2 separate regions of the Homo sapiens genome follow, and region 1 is linked to region 2. Evidence: promoter capture Hi-C in 16 types of primary human blood cells and fetal thymus (Javierre and others, 2016). All regions are on one chromosome and are shown on one strand. Each heading gives the region's core, a stretch centred on a gene start or on the middle of the fragment in contact. The rest is flanking DNA. Distances are from core to core; before and after follow the strand shown.

Region 1 (5,421 bases), core at 2,922-5,421, 1.6 Mb before region 2:
TTCTTCTGTATGTTAACTGAGAGGCCACATTATTTGAGCATGTGCTGTATACCAGCAGGTGCTGGGCACTGTGAGGGGCTGTGCCTCTGCCCTCAGGGAGAAGATGCTGGCCATTGGGGGAGGATATGAGGGAACCAGTGGGAGAGAGGGGAAAGGCATACAACAGGTGCTCAGCAGTGGCTTAGGAATGAGTGGATGGATGGATAAATGGATGAGCAGATGTATAGGTACATGGATGGATGGATGGATGGATGGGTGGATGGATGGATAAATGGATGAGCAGATGTATAGGTGGGTGGATGGATGGATGGACGGACGGATGGACAGATGAATGGATGGATGGGTGGATGGATGGATGGATGGGTTGAATGATGTGTGTATGTATGGGTGGGTGGATAATGTATGGATGGATGGGTGGAGGGTGGATGATGTATGTATGTACATATGGATGGATAGATGGGTGGATAGACGAATGTATGGATAAACAAATGGACAGACAGACGAATGGAGGGATGGATTAATGGGTAGATGGGTGGGTGGATGGATGAATGATGGATGGATAAATGGATGGGTGGACAAACAGGTGAATGGATGGATGGGTGAATGGATGGATGATGGAAGGATGGTGGATGGTGGATGGATGAATGGATGGATGATGGATGGATGGATGATGGAAGGATGGATGGATGGATGAATGGATAAATGGATGGATGATGGAAGGATCAACAGGTGAATGGATGGATGATGGAATGATGGATGAATAAATGGATGGATGATAAAAGGATGGATGAATGATGGATGAATGGATGGATGGATGATGGATGGATAAATGGAAGGATGGATGGATGATGGATGGATGGATGGACAAACAGGTGAATGGATGGATTGATGGGTGATTGGATGGATGACAAAAGAGTGGATGAATGATGGATGGATGGATGATGGATGGATGAATGGAAGGATGATAGGTGAATGGATGGATGATGGAAGGATGGATGCCTGATGGATGGATGGACGGATGATGGATGGATGGAAGGACGAACAGGTGAATGGATGGATAATGGAAGGATGGATGGATGATGGATGGATGGATGGATGAACAGGTGAATGGATGGATAATGGAAGGATGGATGGATGGATGATGGATGGATGGAAGGACCCATAGGTGAATGGGTAGATGATGGAAGGATGGATGGATGGAAGGAAGGATGAACAGGTAAATGGATAGATGATGGAAGGATCATCTATCATCATCATCAATGGACGGATGGATGGATGGAGAGTGAACATGTGCAGAGGCCCTCCTGCATCCCTCATCACTCACCTGGATGTAGAGGTCCACCAGCTCGCTCTGCCGCAAGATGTAATAGATCTTCCCTGCTTGCAGCCAGGCATGCGCCTCCTTCTCTTTCTTCTGGAGGTCAATGAAAATCCCCAGACTTCGTTTGGTGTAGTCCAGTGCGGATTTGTAGGCCCTGGTATCAGACACAGGTGTCAGAACAAGGGCTGTCATCCTCCTGGAACCAGTCTGCCTCCTCCCGTGGGTCTGGTGACAGATGAATCTGGAATGGGACTGGGAACGGCCCTCTTGTGTGTGCAGTGTCCTGCCCTTCCCGGGCTGCTGAGAGGGTGGGGTTGAACACACACGGCAAGGAAAAGACGAAGGACATCCTTCTGAGGGAACTGGGCATCATGCTGCCCTGTGGCTGGGGGAGCGTGCTAGTCCATCTCCCCCGCGTCCCAGACATGGCCTGTGTCTTCTCTAGACGCACCAGGAGCCATCAGTGTTCAGATGCTATCCAGGCCGATGGTTCTCAAGGTGCGCAGGCATCACAGTCATCCAGAGGCCTGTCCATATAGCTTGCTGGCCTGCCCCCAGAGCTTCTGGCTCCACGGGCCTGGGGCGGGCCCTAGAACTCCCACTTGCCACAAGCTCCTAGGTGACATGGATGCTGCTCTGCTGGTCCAGGGACCACACTTTGAGAACATGGCTCTAACACACTGGCCCATTTTCCTGCTGTGAACCTGAGGCCAAGGCTGGAGCCGATCTCCCGGGTCCCTGTGGAATCCGGCTCCTTCCCTGCTCTCTTGGTGAGTCGAAGGGGTGTGAGTGCAGCAATGTCACTGGGCCCTGTGGGTGGGGTGGCCAGGGCCATGGTTACCCCACCAGGTCAGGATGCTCCAGGAGAGCCAAGTGGGCCACATGTGGGATGTGAGACCTTGAAACCCTGCCCCAGGGAAGCAGGTGACACAACTGGCTCTGTCTTCTGTGGGAGAGAAGCCACAGGTGGCTGCTGTGGTCACATTTAAGGGGACAGGTGAAGGCCAGGAGTGAAGACTCGGGGCAGGCAGAGGTCAGATGACAAAAGCCACCAGGTAGGAAGAACAGCCCAGAATGCATGTAACTGCTTCTGCTGGGGTTGAGATGACCTTTGGGGAGGTGTGCAAGCAGGGATGGGAAGACGTGTCACCCAACAAGGGAAGCTCAAGCTGGGACTCACGGGTCATCAGCAGCCCTGGGACAACCCCAGGCCCCCCAGCTCAGAGCATCCGATGCCAAGGAACCAAATGATCCCAAGGAGAGGGGCTGCTGGGGCCCTGGGCCAGCTTCCCTGTGCCCCCGCCCCGCCGCCCCCTTTGCCCCCTCCCCCCGCCCCCACCACCACAGAGCCAGCCCTCACCGCTCGGTGCCCAGGGACAGGTAGAGCTGGCTGATGGTCTCCAGGAGCTGCCCCTCCAGCACCTTGTCGGCCACCTTGCAGGCCAGGGAGAGCTGGAGCTCATGGTAGATGACACACTGGGCCTCGCTGGGCATGACGGCGCTGTAGAAGTGGCACAGCCGCTGGACGGCCCGCAGCTGGCCTGGGCAGAAGACAAAAAGGAAGACGTCAGCCTCCCAGCATTGAAGCGAGGCTGGCTGGGCTCAGAGGCCCCTGCGGTGTGCTTGCCTCTTTCACACCTCTGTGAGCCTGGGCCCCACAGGCGGGGAACCGCTGAGCACACCGTGACATGGGCACAGCTTGGTGCAGATGCCCATGGTAGAGGCCGGCCTTCTTTACAACTCCCAGGGCTGAGGCCCTAGCCGAGCTTGGCCCCTGCACCAGGCCATCTATTTCTGCTTCACAAAGCCCCTCTGGCCAGGACCAGGGCCGCCTTCAGCCCGAGCTGACGAGGCCAGGGACACAAGTAGCCCCTGTCGCAGATGGAACCCTGGGGGAGCAAAACCAAATGTCACGTCTGCCACACACGGCATCATGTTGGGGGAATGGGGCTCAAAGCCGGCCCCTGGCATTCCCACACGTGCTCCTCCCGTGCAGCCAGGCTCCAAACCCACAGGCTCACGGGCCTCTCCCAAAGCCAAGGCGCTGGGAACGGTGGAAAGCTGCTGATTTTCTAGTGTCAGCAACATTCCGGAGATGAACACCAGAAACCAGGTACGCCGAGTGGACATCTATCACACACGCCACCCAACAACGGCAGAATACACAGTCCTCTCAAGCGCCCATGGGACATTCCCCAAGACAGGCCACGTGCCAGGCCCCACAATGAGCCTCAGTGAATGGAAAAGGACTGAGACCAAAGCAGGAGTGTTCTTCAGTTGTACTGGCGTGAAACTGGACATCAACAGTGAAGGAAATTTGGGAAAGTCAAAAATATGTGGAAATGACACACTCCTAAACAACCAGTGAGTGAAAGAAGAGACCATCAGGGAAACTGAAAACTAATTTGAGAAGAATGAAAACAAACGCACAGCACGGGCCAGAGCAATGGCTCATGCCTGTCATCCCAGCACTGCGGGAGGCCGAGGCGGGAGGATCGCTTGAGTCCAGGAGTTTGAGACTAGCCTGGGAAACATGGTGAAACCCCCGTCTCTACAAAAAAATACAAAAATTAGCCGGGTGTGGTGGTGCATGTCTGTAATCCCAGCTACTCAGGAGGCCGAGGCAGGAGAATGGCTTGAACCCGGGTAGAGGTTGCAGTGAGCCGAGATTGCACCACTGCACTCCAGCCTGAGCAACAGAGCAAAACTCTGTCTAAAAAAAAAAAAAAAAAAGCACAGCATATCAAAAATTCCAAGATGCAGCTAAGGCAGTGCTGAAAGGGAAATGTGTAACTCTAAATGTCTACATGCAAAGAAAGAAGAAAAATCTCAAATCAAAAACCCAACCTTCCACCTTAAGAAACTAGAAAAAGAAGAATGAACTAAACCCAAAGCGAGTAAAAGGAAGAAAATAATAAACATGAGAGTGGAAATGGGAAGTAAAAATACAGAGAATGGAAAAACAAAAGAGCTAATCAACAGACCCAAAGGTGGGTTTTTCAAAAATATTAACAAAATTGACAAATCTTTCACCAGACTGACCAAGAAAAGAAAGATGGGACACAAATGACTAAAATCAGAGACCGAGCACCATGGCTCACGCCTGTCATCCCAGCACTTTGTGAGGCCGAGGTGGGAGGATCGCTTGAGGCCAGCATTCAAGACCAGCCTGGGGGAACATGACGAGACCCCATCTCTAATAAAAATAAATAAATTAAAAATTAAAAACCCAAGTTTCTAAAATCAGAAATGAAAGAGGGAACATTATTGCTGACCTGACAGAAATAAAAGGATTCCATGAGAACACTACGAACAATTGTATGCCAACAAATCAGATCATCTAGACGCAACAGCCAAACTCCTAGAAAGACACAAACTACCAAAAGTGACTCAAAAATGACCACAAGTAAGCATGTGGGGTATCAGCCCCACCCTCGGTCTTCTCGACTGTTCAACGCGGGGTGGGGAGACAGGGAAGCATGATCCTCGTCCCCTGGCCCCCGGTCTCCTCGACTGTTCAACGCGGGGTGGGGAGACAGGGAAGCATGATCCTCGTCCCCTGGCCCCCGGTCTCCTCGACTGTTCAACGCGGGGTGGGGAGACAGGGAAGCATGATCCTCGTTCCCTGGCCTGCGTTTCCAAGTCTGAATCCCCCAGCACCCCGGGGAGGGCCTCGTAGGAGGTGCCACAGGCTATTGTGCCAGGACCCACCGGAGGCTGCTGTGGGGGCTGGGGTGCCGGGTTTCTGGAGGGTCTCCTTGCAGTCAGAGAATGGCCCTGGGGAAGAAGCCTGGGTCTGAACCCCCCCACTCCTCCTTGGGCAGATGGCTCCCCAGTGCCCTTAGGGAAAAGGCCAAGCCACAGCCTGAGGCCCCAGGCCCTGCTTAGCTCTCCAGCAGAGCTTCTCACCATCCAGCACCCAACCAACCCACGCCCAACTCTGCACCTCCCTGCATAGGCCCTGCTCACTCACCCCCACTTACACCCCACTCATCCCCGCTCACCCGCTCACACCCCCGCTCACTCACCCCCTGCTCACCCCCATCACACCCCCACTCACTCACCCCCTGCTCACTCACCCCCATCACACCCCCACTCAC
Region 2 (5,176 bases), core at 1-2,500:
TACTGGAAATTGAGTGGCTAATGTGGAGAAAACGCAGGCAGAAAAACAGGGGAGACAAAACGAAAGGCTCTCTTGGTTTGAGCCTGTCCAAGCAGCCACGACTCCTTATCAGGTGAACACAGTTCGTCAGTTGGCCACCTAAAGTACAAGTGGGAGAAATTCATCATCACAACATAAATTTTGAGCTTGATATTCTCATATCCGGGAGTCAAACAAACCCAACCACCTGTGCACAATGCTTCCACCTGCAGGAAGGTCATCGCAAACGCTCCAATCTCGTAACAACATTCACACGTTTCCAGCATGTACCTCCGCTTCACACCTCTCTCCCCCCACGTAGTGACCCACCAGGTCTACGTCCTGAAAATACTTCCAGTGGTCATGACTCTTTACAACAACATATCAAATTATTTTCTCTAATTACCTATGAAAAAAGAATGAAACCAACTCCGCGGAGAGCGTGGCACGGCTCTGCGCTCCCCTCCCTGCCTACCCAGCGCCTTCCACGCGGGACACTCCCCGCCGCGCTCCGCTCCAGACCCGCGCGGCCTCGCCGGCTCAGCAGCACTCGCAGCCGGCGATCCGCTGGTGCAGCTCCACGATCCGCCTGCCCATCCGCGCCGCCTCCGCAGCCTTCCTCTCTGCTTCGGCGCACAGCCGAGCCACCCGCTCCTCAGCCTCCGCACGCGGGCGGGGTGCTGGGGCCCGGGCGCCCCGCTCCTCTGCCTCCACCTCACTCTTGATGGCGTCGAGCAGGCTCTGGATCTCCAGCAGCTTCCTGCGGGCCCGCCAGTGCGCCCGGGCGCGCTCGCGCTCCAGGGAGGCCAGGTTCTCGCGGCCGGCGCGGGGCGCGGGGCTCAGCGGGCTGCCCGGCTCCTCGCGGGGCTCCCGCGCCTCGTCCGCGTCCACGGGCCGCATCACGCCGCCGCCTCTTCCAGCCCGCGGGGCACGCCGGGGCTGCTCACCAGCAGCGAGCGCGGAAGCCTCGCTGTCACCAACGACCAGACTAGCAACAGGTTGCCCCAACTTTCCGCAGCGAGGACGGTATCCAAAATGGGCTACTAGCCGTCGGCCAGGACGCTGCCACTGCGGCCCTTTTACGACACCTGCGGTCCTTTACCGCCACGCAGCAAGCGAGAACCGCATTCGGGGCTCCCGCCTCAGCGGTCCTGCGCGCGCACGCGCACTTGCACGCACGCGTACCCCCCCGCACGCATGCGCACCCCATGTCCCCGCCCGCTGTAGCGCCACAGCTCTTTGGGCGTTGATTCTAGGGTCAGGGCCCTCACTCACACTGCTGGAAGGTTAAAGTCGACTTCACGCTAGTTTAAGGAAATATCTGACGCTGATAACCATGTCCCAAGCACTGCTCTAAGTTCCCAATGTGTCCGGAATTGGTGGGTTCTTGGTCTCACTGACTTCAAGAATGAAGCCACGGACCCTCGCGGTGAGTGTTACAGCTCTTAAAGTGGCGCGTCTGGAGTTTGTTCCTTCTGATGTTCGGATGTGTTCGGAGTTTTTTCCTTCTGGTGGGTTCGTGGTCTCGCCGGCTCAGGAGTGAAACTGCAGACCTGTTACGGCTCATAAAGGCAGTGTGGACCCAAAGAGTGAGCAGCAGCAGGATTTATTGCAAAGAGAGAAAGAACAAAGCTTCCACAATAGAAGGGGACCTGAGCCGGTTGCCACTGCTGGCTCCGGCAGCCTGCTTTTATTGTCTTATCTGGCCCCACCCACATCCTGCTGATTGGTAGAGCCGAGTGGTCTGTTTTGACAGGGTGCTGATTGGTGCGTTTACAATCCCTGAGCTAGACACAAAGGTTCTCCAAGGCCCCAGCAGAGTCGATTGGTATATTCACAAACCCTGAGCTAGACACACGGTGCTGATTGGTGTATTTACAATCCCTGAGCTAGACATAAAGGTTCTCCACATCCCCACCAGACTCAGGAGCCCAGCTGGCTTCACCAAGTGGATCCCACACCAGGGCTGCAGGTGGAGCTGCCTGCGAGAACGGCACCGTGCGCCCACACTCCTCAGCCCTTGGGTGGTGATGGGACTGGGCGCCGTGGAGCAGGGGGTGGTGCTCGTCGAGGAGGCTCGGGCAGCACAGGAGCCCATGGAGGGGGTGGGAGGCTCAGGCATGGCGGGCTGCAGGTCCCGAGCCCTGCCCCTCGGAAAGGCAGCTAAGGCCCGGTGAGAAATCGAGCACAGCGCCGGTGGGCTGGCACTGCTGAGGGACCCAGTACACCCTCCGCAGCCGCTGGCCCGGGTGCTAAGCCCCTCATTGCCGGGGGCTGGCAGGGCCAGCCGGCTGCTCCGAGTGCGGGGCCCACCAAGCCCACGCCCACCCTGAACTCCAGCTGGCCCGCAAGCGCCGTGTGCAGCCCCGGTGCCCGCTCGCGCCTCTCCCTCCACACCTCCCTGCAAGCTGAGAGAGCCGGCTCTGGCCTTGGCCAGCCCAGAAAGGGGCCTCCACAGTGCAGCAGTGGGCTGAAGGGCTCCTCAAGTGCTGCCAAAGTGGGAGCCCAGGCAGAGGAGGCACCGAGAGTGAGCGAGGGCTGTGAGGACTGCCAGCACACTGTCACCTCTCACCAACATTCTAAATCATAAACACCCAGGCCGGGCGTGTGGCTCACGCCTATAATCCCAGCACTTTGGGAGGCTGAGGTGAGAGGATCGCTTGAGCTCAGGAGTTCCATACCAGCCTGGGCAACAAGGGAAAAAACCCTACCAAAAAAAACACAAGAAATTAGCTGGGCGTGGTGGCGCGTGCCGATAGTCCCAGCTACTTGAGAGGCTGAGCCGGGAAGATTGCTTGAGCCCAGCAGGTCGAGACCGAGGTGAGCTCTGAACGCCTGATTGCGCCACTGCACCCCAGCCCAGTGACAGGGCGAGACCCTGTCTCAAAATAAATAAATAAAAATAATAAACAACCGAATTCAGTGGTCCCGTTAGAATATTCCAGGCTCCGAGAAGCCAGGTGCTCACAGCGTCGGGATTTGCCCCCAGCCAGGGCCTCCGCTCCCTCTTGCCTCGGGCAGATGCTCCTGGAACACAGAGCTGCGGCCTCGGTGCTGATGCTGAGTGCTGTGACCCAGCCTCCCCCTACTTTTTTCCTAAGGGTATAAGCTTCACTCTGCCTGGGGCTTTGGCTGTAAGTTGGAGTCTGGCTTTACCCACTGTGGGCACCCAAGGCCAAGGTGGGTCTGATTCACCACTGTTTCCTCAGCCCTGCCAGGCTCTGAATATGCCTTTAGGAATCATTCTGGAAGATTTCTTTCTTCACTGGACTATATAAGTGCCTCTGCGAGAAAACAGGCCCTAGGGGCAGGTACTTAGTCAGTTTAGTCATCTGTTTCCTCAGCTTGAAATGGGCTTGGCATACAGCAGGAGCCCAGTAAATGTTGCTTTAATGCTCATTTCCCAAGAGATCTTTATTAAGCACCCACTGCATGTCATTGTGTCTAGGCTTATTCACTGTGTACCTCTAGCAGAAAGTTAAGGGGACCCTCCATGCTTGATGGCCAGAGGTCACTCTCAGCTCCTACAGGTCACTCTCCGGTCCTTAAACGTGGCCCTCTCCATCTTCAAAGCCAGTAAGAGCATGTCGGATCCTTCTTATCCTTCCAGCCTCTCTGTCATCCCCTTCTGCTCCCAGCTGGAGAAAACTCTGCTTTTAAGGGGCTTGCCATGGTCCAAATATGTGAGTCCCCCCAAAATTCATATGTTGCAAAGCAATCCCCAATGTGATGATATTAGGAGGTGGGGTCTTTGGGAGGTGATGTGGTCATGAAGGCTCAGCTTTCATGAATGAGATTAGCACCCTCATAAAACAACTCCACAGGGCCGCCTTACCCCTTCTGCTGTGGGAGGTTATAGCAAAAAGATGGGCTTCTATGAACCAGAAGTGGGCCCTCACCAGGCACCAAACCTGCTGGCACCGTGATCTTGTACTGCTCAGCCTTCAGAACTCAGAAAATACATTTCTGTTGTTTAGAAGACACCCAGTTTCTGGTATTTTGTTAGAGCAGCGTGAACGGACTAAAATAGTGCTTATGTGGTTGTGTAACAGCATCGATTCCATGTTAAAGAACAATTTTGCTTGCTCAATTATAATTATTGCTTTGCTTAAGTTTTAGACTATGCTAAAAACAGCCTCAGGACCTTCAGCACTGATCAACAATCCTGGGCATGGGCTGACCGACAGTTTTCACCCAGAGAGTGAAGATCATGGAGGAGCCATCTTAAATTCTGCCCAGCGCAGGCTCCCAGGAATCCTAATGTCACGATCTCACTGCAGCCAATGTGACAAACACAGCAGTAATTAAGTCTAGAGAGCTAAACACACCTCAAAAAGAATTGTCTCTTGGTATGAGTGGAATGGAATAAAATACATGGAAACCCACAAAAGTTTCGAGGTGAACATATTAGCAAAAATGCTCTAGCTTATCCAAGCGACAGTTCAAAGTGTCAAAGGACTTCTAGACTCCCAATCTTTCCACCGGCAGAAAGCAGGCTCAGTAGCCCAAACTGGCGCATTTTAAAATGCCCTTTTCAGAAGTGTGATGGAAAAAGAAGGATGTGTCAGTGCAGGCCAGTGTGTGGGGACCAATGGCAAACTGCAGCTCCTGAACTAAGAAAGACTTTCATATCTTTAAAAAAGAAAAGGAGAAATAGGAATATGTGATAGAGACTGTATGTGGCCCACAAAGCCTAACATATTTACTGTTTAGATCTTTACAGAAAATGTTTGCCAACTCCTGTGCTGCTGAGCCACTTCCAGGTTGCAGAACCAAAGCCTTACATTCCCTAGCTTTAAAGTAGAGGACCTGGCAATGTTTACTCCACCGAGTTTCAAAATAGCTATGTGACTGCTATTTCACCCCTTCATTCTTCCCTTACCAATGGGCCTTATCCTGTCCCTGTCTCATCACTGAATGTTGGGTCTAAGTGGACAATAACTTGTCTTTTCAAAAAGTGCATAAGCTTCTAGACCAATAAAAGCCATATTAGGACCTGATGTGGCTCACAAGATGCTAGACTTCTTGCTTGAGGCCATGATTGGAAGAAAGTAGGAAGGGGGTCCTTAGATGGGGGTGGGCAATTTTTCCATGAATAATGGGGGCAGTGGGCACAGATGATGGTAGGTAGTATAAATGACCCCAATTCCCCACCCCT

The links. The method cuts DNA at HindIII sites, captures the fragments that hold promoters and counts their contacts. A CHiCAGO score of 5 or more calls a contact.
Region 1: a fragment that was not itself captured here is called in contact with the fragment with the promoter of LINC02482 in region 2 in 2 of 17 cell types (total B cells and fetal thymus); the score reaches 5.8 in total B cells.

Annotation. Positions count from the first base shown.
Region 1 is chr4:8,229,417-8,234,837 of GRCh38, reverse strand. It overlaps SH3TC1 (SH3 domain and tetratricopeptide repeats 1), which reads right to left. Exons shown (of 18, transcript NM_018986.5): 13 at 2,682-2,862; 14 at 1,325-1,475. Among named protein-coding and RNA genes, the nearest start is that of SH3TC1, 33 kb to the right of the region's middle. RefSeq lists a silencer at 5,386-5,421 and an enhancer at 5,203-5,421. The HindIII fragment of the contact is 8,587 bases long and covers 1-5,421 here.
Region 2 is chr4:6,669,955-6,675,130 of GRCh38, reverse strand. It overlaps LINC02482 (long intergenic non-protein coding RNA 2482), which reads left to right and starts at 1,250. Exons shown (of 2, transcript NR_134665.1): 1 at 1,250-1,447; 2 at 4,138-4,403. MRFAP1L2 (Morf4 family associated protein 1 like 2) reads right to left here and starts at 1,056. Exons shown (of 1, transcript NM_138699.3): 1 at 1-1,056. The coding sequence starts at 918. The coding sequence ends at 559. RefSeq lists a silencer at 752-981 and an enhancer at 1,454-2,062. The HindIII fragment of the contact is 2,330 bases long and covers 1-1,652 here.